Regions from separate parts of the Homo sapiens genome. Here all the other regions are linked to region 4. Evidence: promoter capture Hi-C in 16 types of primary human blood cells and fetal thymus (Javierre and others, 2016). All regions are on one chromosome and are shown on one strand. The core of a region is centred on a gene start or on the middle of the fragment in contact, and the rest is flanking DNA. Distances in the headings are between cores, read along the strand shown. Region 1 holds the start of ATG9B (autophagy related 9B). Region 2 holds the start of ABCF2 (ATP binding cassette subfamily F member 2). Region 3 holds the start of ASIC3 (acid sensing ion channel subunit 3). Region 4 has its middle 2.4 kb from the start of KRABD3.

What was found. Contacts are between HindIII fragments. The CHiCAGO score rates a contact against its expected background, and 5 or more counts as called.
Region 1: the fragment with the promoter of ATG9B here is called in contact with a fragment that was not itself captured in region 4 in 5 of 17 cell types (non-activated CD4 T cells, total B cells, total CD4 T cells and 2 more); the score reaches 10.1 in non-activated CD4 T cells.
Region 2: the fragment with the promoter of ABCF2 here is called in contact with a fragment that was not itself captured in region 4 in 1 of 17 cell types (non-activated CD4 T cells); the score reaches 6.6 in non-activated CD4 T cells.
Region 3: the fragment with the promoter of ASIC3 here is called in contact with a fragment that was not itself captured in region 4 in 2 of 17 cell types (non-activated CD4 T cells and naive CD4 T cells); the score reaches 9.3 in non-activated CD4 T cells.

Annotation. Positions count from the first base shown.
Region 1 is chr7:151,023,159-151,026,376 of GRCh38, reverse strand. ATG9B (autophagy related 9B) reads left to right here and starts at 1,883. Exons shown (of 14, transcript NM_001317056.2): 1 at 1,883-2,503; 2 at 2,647-2,690; 3 at 2,868-2,932; 4 at 3,171-3,218. The coding sequence starts at 1,954. LOC124901777 (a long non-coding RNA gene) reads left to right here. Exons shown (of 3, transcript XR_007060593.1): 3 at 1,344-1,382. RefSeq lists an enhancer at 368-972. The HindIII fragment of the contact is 8,592 bases long and covers 1-3,218 here.
Region 2 is chr7:151,225,632-151,228,604 of GRCh38, reverse strand. It overlaps ABCF2 (ATP binding cassette subfamily F member 2), which reads left to right and starts at 1,400. Exons shown (of 15, transcript NM_007189.3): 1 at 1,400-1,442; 2 at 2,105-2,300. The coding sequence starts at 2,147. It overlaps ABCF2-H2BK1 (ABCF2-H2BK1 readthrough), which reads left to right and starts at 1,400. Exons shown (of 17, transcript NR_160983.1): 1 at 1,400-1,442; 2 at 2,105-2,300. RefSeq lists enhancers at 1,224-1,303, 1,414-1,463 and a silencer at 1,564-1,623. The HindIII fragment of the contact is 13,339 bases long and covers 1-2,650 here.
Region 3 is chr7:151,047,051-151,049,919 of GRCh38, reverse strand. It overlaps ASIC3 (acid sensing ion channel subunit 3), which reads right to left and starts at 1,389. Exons shown (of 11, transcript NM_004769.4): 1 at 501-1,389. The coding sequence starts at 1,034. It overlaps ABCB8 (ATP binding cassette subfamily B member 8), which reads right to left. Exons shown (of 16, transcript NM_007188.5): 16 at 2,138-2,869. The HindIII fragment of the contact is 11,911 bases long and covers 1-2,374 here.
Region 4 is chr7:149,711,014-149,714,106 of GRCh38, reverse strand. No RefSeq gene overlaps it. Among named protein-coding and RNA genes, the nearest start is that of KRABD3, 2.4 kb to the left of the region's middle. RefSeq lists an enhancer at 1-3 and a silencer at 335-629. The HindIII fragment of the contact is 1,268 bases long and covers 854-2,121 here.

The DNA of each region.
Region 1 (3,218 bases), core at 634-3,133, 1.3 Mb before region 4:
GTCTTGTTTTCATAGCTCTGCCTCCTACTCTGAGATAAAGGCATGCAAGACCTGAGCTACTACTACAATACCCCACACAGAAGGAGAAAATCAGGCACATCTGGATTCAAGTTTTGTGGGTGATTCCATGATTGCCTCCAGTGAACAATCTGGGAAGCACAGTGTCCATATCGCCATTTCAGGGGTACTGGCCCCAACATCAGCCCTTAGGCCTAAGCCCTAGAGACCTTGACACCTGGTGGCTGAGTCAGTATCTCAGTAATGGGCTTTAGAAGGAAACCTGGTGATTCAGGGCCTCAAGAATGGCGTTGGGCAAGCCACCAGACCAGCTGCCTGGGTCTCCTCCTCCTTGTTGAGGTGACAACAAGGAACTCAGTTCAGCTCCTCCCTGGGTATCCAAATTATCCTTCCAAGTCCCAGACTCACAGCTGTCCTCCCTTCTGATTCAGCCCTGATGCTTTTCAGGGGGTCCCAGAAGTGGGATCCGGACTTGAGAGAATGTCACAGTTGAAAATGATAAGGATGCAAACGGAATGGAACTTTCAGAGAACCCCAATTTTCTACTCTAAGTTCTCCAAACCAACTCTCAAATCCAAGATAGCTGCCTTTCCTTTCTTCACCTCCTCTTCTTAGTTTTCCCCAACTTGGCTGCAAAGTCAGCCTCCCCTCTTCTCTTCCTTAGCACCTCAGACCAATAAAACATGCAACCTTTTCTTATTCTTTTTAAAAAATTTATTTTTGACCAGGCGCAGTGGCTCACGCCTGTAATGCCAGCACTTTGGGAGGCCAAGGCGGGTGGATCACGAGGTCAGGAGTTCAAGACCAGCCTGGCCAACATGGTGAAACCCCATCTCTACTAAAAATACAAAAAATTAGCTGGGTGTGGTGGCACACACCTGTAGTCTCAGCTACTCAGGAGGCTGAAGCAGAAGAATCACTTGAACTTGGGAGGCGGAGGTTGCAGTGAGCCGAGATTGTGCCACTATACTCCAGTCTGGGTGACAGAGTGAGACTGCCTCAAAAAGAAAAAAAATTATTTTGTTTGTTTTTTAGATTTTGTAGAGATGGTGTTTCCCTAAGTTGCTCAGGCTGGTCTCGAACTCCTGGCCTCAAGTGATCCTCTCGCCCGGGCCTCCCAAAGTCCTGGGATTACGGGTGTAAGCCAACATGCCTGGCCCCTTTACTTCTTCTTTTCTGTTTTGGTCACAAAACATTTCTCTGTTGATCACTGTAGTGTGTGTGTGGAGGGAAGTGGGGGAGGTACACTCTTAAGAAATGAAATAGTTAACATCTTGGTCCTAAGATTTGTTGTAGAGATGGAGTCTTCTCATTCTGTTCCCCAGGCTGGTCTTGAACTCCTGGCCTCAAGCAATCCTCTTTCCTCGGCTTCCCAAAGTGCTGAGATTGATTACAAGTGTGAGGTACTGCGCCCTGCTACAATCCTTTAATAGGATGTTTTTGGGGGGGGTGGCAGGGGGCAGGATCTAGCTCACTGTAACCTATACTGTTCCAGTGTAACCTGCACCAAGCCATCCTCCCACCTCAGTCTCTTGAGTAGCTAGGAACACAAGCACACATCACCACACCTGGCTCTAACACGATTTTGCTTTTTGCTTTTGTCATTTTGGCTGCTGTTCTTTTTATCTTTCATTCATTCAAGGTCTGAAGATGGAGATAATAGGAATCTTCTCATCTCAATGTGCTCTTTGGCCCCTCCTCTTAAACTGATGCCCCTCTCAGGCCCTGAGGGATTTGGCCTCAGGTTGCCCTGGAAGGGGTGTGAGTGATCAGACAGGTGACTGAGAGCTGGGACGCCTGAGGCCTGCCTAGGCTGAGTCACCTAGTAATGTTGTTGTCATTGTTCCTGTTGAAGTCCCAGCTCAGTGTCACAGACCTTTGTGGAAGCAACAACAGCTCCCATCCTTCCAACCTTTCTGGAGAAGCCGTGGCCTGATGGTGAGCCGAATGGGCTGGGGGGGGAGAAGAAGGCGGCTGGGGCGGTGGGGAGATCTGGGGCCCGGATCGGTGCCCCTCCTCCCCATGCCACTGCCACCTCCTCCTCCTCCTTCATGCCGGGGACCTGGGGGAGGGAGGATCTCCATCTTCTCTCTGTCCCCTGCCCCTCATACAAGAAGCTCCCCCTCCTCATTTTCCCCTCCCACCGCAGGGCCCCCTTGCTCAGTGCTACAGGGGACAGGGGCTTCTCAGTCTTGCCACAGTGCTCTCCCTATCCCAGCCACCCCCCCAACACAGGCTCAACCTGCAATGACACCTGCCTCTGCATCTCCCTCCTGGGGATCCCACTCCACCCCACCCCTGGCCCCGGCAACCCCCACTCCCTCACAGCAGTGCCCCCAGGACTCTCCTGGGCTGCGGGTAGGCCCTTTGATCCCTGAACAGGATTATGAGCGGCTGGAGGACTGTGACCCTGAGGGGTCCCAAGACTCACCCATCCACGGGGAGGAGCAGCAACCCCTGCTTCATGTCCCTGAAGGGCTCCGAGGTATGTGTGTGGGTGTGGGTGGGAGAGGGTTAGTGGTGCCTGGGAGCTCCAGTACTTATCCCAGGCTGGGCCTCTGGCAGCGGGTTGAGAACGTGGAGAATTGATCACATGCCAGGGGCTGACACTCTCCCCTCTGTGCCCAGGCTCCTGGCATCACATCCAGAACCTGGACAGTTTCTTCACCAAGATATCCTTTGCGCTAGGCCTGCAGAGGTGGCATGGGAAGGTCCTCTTGGAGCTGGCACTGTTCTTGGCAGGGAGACTCCGTGAGGGCGTCATGGGTGGGAGACTTGTTGGGGCTGAGGGGAGGTGTCCTCAGGAGAGGCCCCCCGTGCCTCAGGCTTGTTCCTTGACACGCAGCCACATCTACAGCTACCACCAGCGGAATGGCTTTGCCTGCATCTTGCTGGAGGATGTCTTCCAGCTGGGGTGAGACGCTTAGCCCGGGCCCGGAACTCGGTCCCCTGGGCCCATGGCTTCCTTCTGTCATTTTGCTTCCTTAATTGTGCCAGCTGCTTCCATCCCATGCTTTCCCGAGCAGCCCAAGGGCTCAGCAGGGGCAGGGTCAGGGAGGATAACCATGGGCTGCTCTGGGGGCTGGGGCAGGAGCCCACCTGGCTGTCCCTGATCACTGCAGCATCCCGGCACCCCCCCTTCCTCCCGGCAGACAATTTATTTTCATTGTCACCTTCACAACCTTCCTCCTTCGATGCGT
Region 2 (2,973 bases), core at 151-2,650, 1.5 Mb before region 4:
CTTGAACTCCTGGGCTGAAATGATCCTCCCACTACGGCCTTCCAAAGTGCTTGGATTACAGGTGTGAGCCACCACACCCGGCTTGTTTACTTTTCACATGTTCCTTCTTTATTATGAGCTCCCTGAGGTCAGGGAGTGACTTTGCACCATTGCAACTCCAGCACATATATCTGAGCCTGACAGATAGTAGGCACTTCGTTGGTGGAGGATATTCTAGGAAAATGTATGTTCAAAGGCATGCAGGTGTAAAATAGCACGCTTAATCTCCGAACTATTTAAGTAGGTAAGTTCTACTGAAGTATGAGTTTGAGAAGAAAAACTAATTCTCATTGTTTGAGTCACGGACTGTGGGCGAAAAGGTGCCACATTTGGAGAATATGCTCAAAGGGAGCAATAGCTTCCTTTGCTGCCCCAAACGTCACTGATGGTGAGGCTTCTGCTGCACAGGAGCCTGGAGAAGTAACAAAGATCACAAAGGGCCTGCCTTGTACTTGAGGCTAAACATTTGGAGTTTACAATGTAGGTAATGTGAAGTCCTTGAGAGATTGTATTTATTTTTAAACCATCCAGCCCAAAATGTCATGTGAGAGATTTTAAACAGTGAGACTCAAAGGGAAAGTAACGGGCCCGGTAGCATGGCTAACTAATAATAAAACAAATCTCAGCCAAGGGGCCTTTTTATCTCGGGGCCCTTTCCACCAAACTTGCATGGCTTCAGTGGAAACCTAACAATGCGGCAGCGGGGAGGCTAAGCGGCCGAGGTTCCAAAACAACGTCTGGCACCTTCTAAAAGTTTAACAATGAACCAGCCTCTAAAATTAAGGTTTAATGAAACCAAGGCGCTTTCTTTCGTGAAGGAATTCCGTTGGCAACATCTTTGCAGCGATGCCCCGCTTTCTGGAACCCCTCCCTGCCCAGCGCCCCCTTCATTTTAGTCCTCCCCTCACGCTCCCACCTCTCCTCTCCCATTGTTTCGATCTACTCCCGCTGAGGCAAGCTGGGAAGTGTAGTTGCACGCCCTGCTGCCTGAGTCGGTTAGGTAGCTCTAAAAACTCGTAACTCCACAACAGCTCAATGGATTTTCGAGAGGTGGGGTAAAGCCTGAAGGCTCAGCCGGTTTATCCAACGAGCAATCTGGGATTTGCAGTTTCCAGCGCCCGAAGTGCGCCCGCTAGCAGAGAGCTCTTGGACTCTAATCCCGCCCCCTCCCCGAGCCTCGCGCATCCTGATGGCGTCACGCGGCCCCGCGAGGTCTGTGGGATACATAGTAGTCCTCAAGGCGGGTCTCACTCTTGGCCGCTGCAACTTGAGGACTACACTTCCAAGGAGGCAGCGCGGCGCGCCGAGAACCACCCGAGGCCGTGATTGGCTGGTGAGCCGGCCGCACGCGGAGGATCCTAAGGAGCAGCTCTGTTGCGACATAGGCCGAGCAGCGAGGCCCAGTGAGTTAGGGGAAGGGGAGCTGTAGGGAGAGGGTCCCCGCCGGTGAGGGGGAAAGAGAATTAGAAGAGGAAGCAGGGACGGGGTTTGGATGGAGGGCTCTGCGAGGGGGAAGATAGGGCTAAGGGAGAGAAGCTGACGGGCGGGGTGGGGGAGGACCCGGGGGTGACGAGCGTGGAGACTCGGAGGGGACTCACGCGGGCGAGGACGAGTGCGTCCCGGCAAGAGGCTGGGCTCGACGGCCGGGTGATGTGGAGAGGGACGATCGAGAAGAGGCCCGAGACGGACGGGAGGAGGAAGCCCGGAAAGTGAGGCGGCTAGCTGAGTGCGGAGCGCCAAGTTGTAGGGAAACCGGAGACGGAGACCTCCGCTGAGGGGCAGAACCTGGTCCCCAGCCGGAGGCCCTGAAAGAAGGAGCGTTTCCAAAGTGAGGCAGTCCGTGGGGGACTGGTGCCTGTGGGAAGAGATGTTAAGATTAGAAGAGCCGCTGAGAATCGGCATTGGTTTGGGATACCCTGACCAAGTTGGAACAGACGAGGCGGGGGCAGGCCAGGGCATCAGAGGCTTGATGTTGATACGAAGATTCCTGAGAGGGATGGAGCAGGGCCCAGGCATTCTTACTAGTAAGTTTAGGGTTTGGGGGTATCTGTTTGCCTTCCTTCAGGCTCCCTGAAACAACAGTAACCTACCCCTGTGGGTCATCATCATGCCCTCCGACCTGGCCAAGAAGAAGGCAGCCAAAAAGAAGGAGGCTGCCAAAGCTCGACAGCGGCCCAGAAAAGGACATGAAGAAAATGGAGATGTTGTCACAGAACCACAGGTGGCAGAGAAGAATGAGGCCAATGGCAGAGAGACCACAGGTGAATTGAGGGAGGGGTGAGTTGGGGATGGTTGCTAAGACTTAATGCATGCCCCAGCCAGAGTTGGAATCTTGATGCTGGGGGTAGTGGAGAATGTATCTGGTGTCATGCAACTTTTCATGATGAATCAAATCAGTAGAGTTGGAATTCGTGCCACCCTGTCATTGCGCAAGGAAGCCGAAGACGAGGTTCTCACATACTCAGTGGCAAGCGGATGTGAGAGTTGCTGAGCTGCCTTGCTGCTCTATTAGATTGTGAGGAGGGGATCAGTTCCCTGCCCCTTTCTCAGTTTCCATTTCTATGCATGGTGACCAATGTGCCAGGTTCTTTGCTACATTATACAATAAGCTTGTCCTCTCACTGGTGTAGTGGCTCTACCTACAAGAGAGTAACTTATGAGTTGATTTATGGGGTTTTTCCTGGGAGAGAGCTCCCTTTCTGTTATTTATATTTTGGGAAATATTTATTATTTCTCAAGTGCTAGACATGGTGCTATACACTGAGGCACTACCGTCTTCCCTCCAAAAACTTACCGTCTAGACTGGGAAACATGGCCATATGCGGTAAAGACTATTCCAGGCCCTTGGCAGTCCAATCCCAGCCCTCTTCCCTGCCCCCTGAAAACTCCCTAAACAGCCTTCTGCTCCATCCAGACTATTTATTATCTCTTGGA
Region 3 (2,869 bases), core at 140-2,639, 1.3 Mb before region 4:
CCTCCACCCCGCCAATCCCCACCAAAGCCCAGGGCACAGCCTACAGGTTTTTCTGTGTTTCTCTGGGAACTGCAGGAAAAGGAAATGGGCCCCTGTGGCTGTCCTCCGGGGCTGGCAGTATGTTGAAAAGGCAGAGGGAAAGCAAGCCCCCCCCACCTCCTGGCAGAGATAGGGGTCTTCTGCCCCAGAATGGTCCCACCATGGAGGACCCCCAGCCCCAGGAGCAGGGCCTCCCTGGGCCAGACCTCAGGCCTAGGGCCAGCCGGGGTCAGTGTGGCCTCACATGCTCCCCTCGGGCTGGGAGACAGAGAAAGCCCCAAGGAGGACAGCTTCCTGGGCTGCACGGAGTGGCACTGGGGGGTGGGGAGTCCATGGCTGGTAGGAAGGAAGAGGTCCCCTGGCTTTGGGGGAGCCTGTGCTGGCTAGGGAATTGTGGGTGCTGGGCAGGGACTGGTCGGCTCTCTGGGTCCCTGGCAGGATAGGTAGGGAGGTCAGCTCACCGTGGTGAAGTTCTCAGGCCCACAAGGTTGGCCACGGAAGCGACAGTCCAGCAGCATGTCATCCAGGGAGTGCCCAGCACGGGCATAGAGTTGCGCCATGTCAAAGGTGGGACTGGGCATGAAGCCGGGCGGTGCAGGGGGCCGGCCCAGGGCGCGCAGGAAGGCGGCGTGCTCTGCGGGATCCAGGCCCAGCAGCGCAGACCCAGCCCAGTGCAGGTCGTTGGGCGTTAGGCGCGAGCGGCGCAGTGGGTTGATGTTGCACAGGGTGACAGCCGGGAAGATGAGCCGGTGGCTTTCTCGCTCATCCAGGGCAGTCTGGTGGTGGAACTCCCTGTAGTAGCGCACCCTCTCAGCCACCTGGTAGAGGAAGGTGGCCACTGACAGGACCACGGCCGCTGCCCACATCCCCCGGCGCAGGCTCAGGCTGCCTGGCCCGAAGACGTGGCCCAGCCCGTGCATCGAGCAGTTGCTGGCGAACACGCGGATGTCCGAGGCTGGCCGCCGGGCCTCCTCTGGGCCTGAGGTGGGCTTCATGGCCAGAACCCAGGAGCGGAACCAGCTACAGAGGCTTGGAAGAAGCGAGAGAGAGTCAGTCAGGGGGCTAAGGAGGCTAAGATAGGATTCAGGAGGCCAGGCAAGGAGAGGAGAAGAGAGGGTGGGAGACAGCCAAGGTTGGAAGGCAGGGAGGCACTAGCCTGGCAGGATTGGAGGAGGTGATCTGGCCGGTCAGGTCCCACTGTTCCTTCCCGAGGAACAGGCGGTGGCTCCACTGGGCTAGGCACTGGGCTGGGGACTCCGCAGCAGACCAGGTGGGACGTAGCTGACCGTGGCAGGCAGGGGCTGCGGAGCGGTGCTGAGCCGGCGGTGCTGAGCCGGCGCTGCTGCAGAGGATTGGGTTTCAGCAGTAGGGGGGAAAGGGGGCCGACAGAGCAGTCTGGGGGGTAGGAGAGGTCCCTAGGGCCCCAGGCTGAGCCATTAGTGCAGCATGGAGGGGGGCATGGCTGTCCAAGACGAGAGGCGCCAGGAGGAAACCGCAGTAATCCTAGGGAGAGCTTGAGAAAAGCCCAGAGGTAGATTGGGCCTGGAGATGCCTTGGGGCCCCCTAGGCTCCCAGTTGCAACCCCTGTACACTGGCCGCGAGGGTCAGTCGCTGACCCCTGGCCTAGCTCCTCTCTCCTTTTGCCTCTGCGGCCTTCCCTCTAGCTTCACCCAGGATCTGTTCCTTCACGAATACCAGAGCTGGCTCTTGGCCAAGCTGGGAAATGGTTGGAAGGCTGGCATCAGCAGATCTCTTCTTTCTGTGCCCCTAGCATCTCAGCCTACACTGGATGGCCAGGGCACTCTTCATGTCCCACTTCCAGGGCCCGTCTGTTTCCTAAGTGTCCCTCTCTCCCTAGGGAGTCAAAGCCTACCTCCCCACACTCAGGCCTCTGAGGATGTTGGCCTCTACAATGGTTATGGGCTCACCTGCCACCCCAGGTAGAACATGGGTGCCCCACCTGCCACCCTCCCGGGTACCACGGGTACCCCACCTGCCATCTCAGGCACAACATGGGTATTCTGTGATTTCCCATCTTACGCTGCTATATCCAGGACCTGGAAAACCTACATTTTTCCAAAGGGCTGCATACCACCCATTATGTGCACATACCATAGTTTATTTAATGACTCCCCCACTGATGGGCACTGGGGGTGTCCAGTCTTTCCATTACAAACAATGTTGCCGTATCATCACACAGATGTGAACTCCCAGGACTTTGGTGGGCTTTTTTTGACCATGAGTGGTAGAAACATGGTTCCACCAGCCAAACGTGTGCACACACCATGCTGCAACTGCTGGGCCACCTGTCTGTCCTCCCAACAGGACACAAGCTTCATGGGGGCAGGGACTGTCCTCATTCCCCATCGTGGGCTCAATGGCACATGACAGGTGCTTGATTAATAAACACTTTGGAAGGACTGAGTACCATGGTTACAGCACAGGCGTACCAGCTCCCCAGAGCCACAGTGCCATGCTTTGCAAGTATTTACTGTAGATGATCCCACTCACACTCTCAAAACAGGCATTCAGCATCAAGCACAGCTAGGCTCCCACTCTCCACTGTGGAGCGAAGGCCGAGGCGAGGTTAGGAAGACGGCGCGGCTCCTGCGGTCTAGCTCTTCCAGCTGGACTAGCCAAGGGGTTTCACTGCTTCTCTAGGGGGCGGGTGAAGGGCTGGATTTAAAGAAGCCGCCCAGAAGATATAAATCTGGTGTCAGAGGCATTTTGGGCAGCCTGAGGCTGATGACTGAGTGGGTGAAGCAGGAACCACCTTGGCTGGCTGCCTGGTGAGGGAGGGGTCAGGCCAACAAGCAGGGCCCCAGCAGGG
Region 4 (3,093 bases), core at 238-2,737:
GGGGCCTGCGGGGCTAAGCCTGCTGTGCCAGACAGAAGCTTGGAGGGGAAGGGGAGGCTGTGGTCCCACGCAGAGGAGACTCTGCTCTGAGTTTGGAAGCCCCGTCCAGACCTTGCGGCCCAGACAGCGCTCTGCCTGGGCAATATCGGAGGGAAGGAAAGGGAATTCCTCGCCCAGTCGCCCGGGGCTGGCCCTTGCAGCCGCGCCGGCCATGATCACGGACTCGGGTACGATGCCGACAACCCCTCGTCCCGGCCTCCGAGGAAAGGCGCACGCCCACTCGGGCAAAGCCCCCTCGGTCATACCCGAGACACCTTAGACACAGGACCGGCGTGTGCGCAGCCTGCTGAACAAGGATTTGAAGATATCACAAGGCCCCACCTCGCGGAAAGGGAAAACTTAAAAGTCCAACTTTTCAAGAGCCCTACAGGCCACAGCCCTCAGGGTAAGTCGCCTCCTGGGCTTTAGGCCGGGTCCCACCTCCGTGCCGAGGTGAGGCGGGCTCCTTACAGTAATGTGTTCCTGCTCCCAGCTCCTCTCCACCGCCCACCCTCCGGCCCGGGATCCCTAAACGTTAAAACCCCCTAAATCAGGGGTCCCCAACCTTTTGGGCCAGAGCCCGGTTTTGTGGAAGGGAATTTTTGCATGGACTGGGAGGGGGGTTGTTTTGGGATGAAACTGTTCCAACTCAGATCACCAGGCATTAGATTCTCCTAAGGAGCCCGCAACCTGGATCCCGCATTCACAACAGGGTTCTGGCTCCTATGAGAATCCAGCACCTGCAGATCTGACAGGAGGCAGAGCTCAGGGGTAATGCGAGCAAGGGGGAGTGGCTGTAACTACAGATAAAGCTTTCCCTGGCTTGCCCGCAGCTCACCTCCTGCTGCACTGCCCAGCTCCTAACAGGCCAGGACTGGTACTGGTCCATAGCCCAGGGACTGGGGACCCCTGCCTTAAACTTAAACACCTGTAGAAAGAAATCTCTATCCAAGTAAGATGCACCTTTGTTTTAAGCTGTGCAGATTCTTGGCACCTCTTTGACTCAAACGTCCACTTCCTGGCTAGGCTTCCTGCCCCATTTGTGGACCATCAGTCGCTAAAAGCAGTTCACCAACATGAAATTTGCTGCATGGCCAATTATTTAAATTATGGAGACACTTCCTGGCACCCCTATCCCCCAAATTTTAGTTGCGCCTTTGACCCTGTAGACCTGTATTTACCTCAGCCCGTGTGTGTGCGTTAAAAAATAGTTGTGAAGACCTGTCCTGAACCAGGTTTATTGGATGGCTCTGGACACAGACAAAGGCAGGAGTGGAGCTGAAACACATCTTTAAAAATTCCTTGGCTGGGGCCAGGCACGGTGGCTCACACCTGTAATCCCAGCACTTTGGGAGGCCAAGGCTGGTGAATTGCTTGGGCCTGGGAGTTCCAAACCAGCCTAGGCAACATGATGAAACCCCATCTCTACAAAAAATGCAAAAATTAGCCAGGTGCAGTGGTGTACCCCTGTAGTCCCAGCTGCTTGGAAGGCTGAGGTGGGAGAATCTCTTGAGCCCAGGAGGCAGAGGGGGGTTGCAGTGAGCCAAGATCACACCACAGCACTCCAGCCTGGGTGACAGAGCAAGACCCTGTCTCAAAAAAAAAAAAAAAAAATTTCAATAATTCAGATTGGTTGTTTAGCAAGTTGATATTCAGTGGTTTAGCTTTTACCATATTTGGCTTTTGGCTATCTGGTCATTCTGTGAATTGACTTTTGGTGAACTAGTCGGCACTTTTCCCAAATGAATCTAAAGGCAAATTGTGCTGGCCAGTCCTCCATGTGAAAATGGCTGCAACTTTAAAATATTTTCTGATTTTCATTATTATTTCTTTTTCCATCCATGAGATTATTTAAAAGTACTTTTTAATTTCCAAATACGAATCTTTTTATGAGTTATTTTGTTTTTGAGTTTTGCCTTATAGTCAGAGAATGTAGTAAGTGATGTTGATTTTTTAGAATTTTCTGAGACTGCTTTGTGGCCAAGTGTGCAATAGATGTTTGAAAATGTTCCATGTTTGCCTAAAAGAGTACATATATTCTAATATTGGTGTAGGATCTAGTTAGAGCTGTAAAATCAAGCTTATCAATCATGTGGTTTATGCCTTCTATAGTTTATCATCTTTTTGCATTTGGAACTATCAGTTACTAAAGAGGTGTTAAAATCTCATATCAAGTTTGTGCATTTGTCAATTTCTCCCTGAATTTGTGAGAATTTTCGCTTCATGTGTTTGGAGGCTGTGTGCTTACAAATTTAGAATTGTAGTATTTTCCTGGAGAATTGTTCATTCTATTATTAGAAAGTAACACTATCCCTAATAATAGTCTTTGTCTATAATCCATTTTGTTTGATATTGCTGCAGCTACACTAACTTTATTTTGGCAAGTATTTCTTTGATATATCTTTTCCTGTCCTTTTACTTTCAAACTTTGTGTATATTTATGTTTCAGATGTGTGTCATATAAGAGCATGTAGCTAGATTTTGTTGTTGCTGCTGAATCCAGTCTGACAATCTCTATCATAATCATGAATCTACTGATTTGAAAGTTATGCTTTCCTTTTTTATTCATTTGGGGGTTACTCTGTAATTTTACACACATATTTGGTTTAATAGAATCTAATATTACTACTTCTGATCTTCTCGCAAATGATAGAAAGCTTTTTGAATATGAGTTTAATCACACTCTTCCCCTTCTGTCTTGTGTGTAATTATTGTTCTTTTTAGTTACATCTTGTTTTTAAGACTCTCTCCTGATATTTGAAGTCATTGTTTTTGTTTTATACAATCTATGCTGTTTAGATTTACCAATGTGCTTACCACTATCTTTGTTCACTCTTTTTTCTTGCCTCTTTCTTCTTCCTTCTGGGTTCAATGTTCTTCCTGAAGCAGAACTTTTAAAATTTATTTCAGCAAGGATATTTTAGAAGTGGATACTTTCAGTTATATAAAATGTCTTACATTTTTCTCACTCCTGAATGATACTTTAGCCAGGGAGAGAACTGTTTCACACTTCTAATATTTTATTCCATTGTCTCCTGACTTTCATTGTTGCTA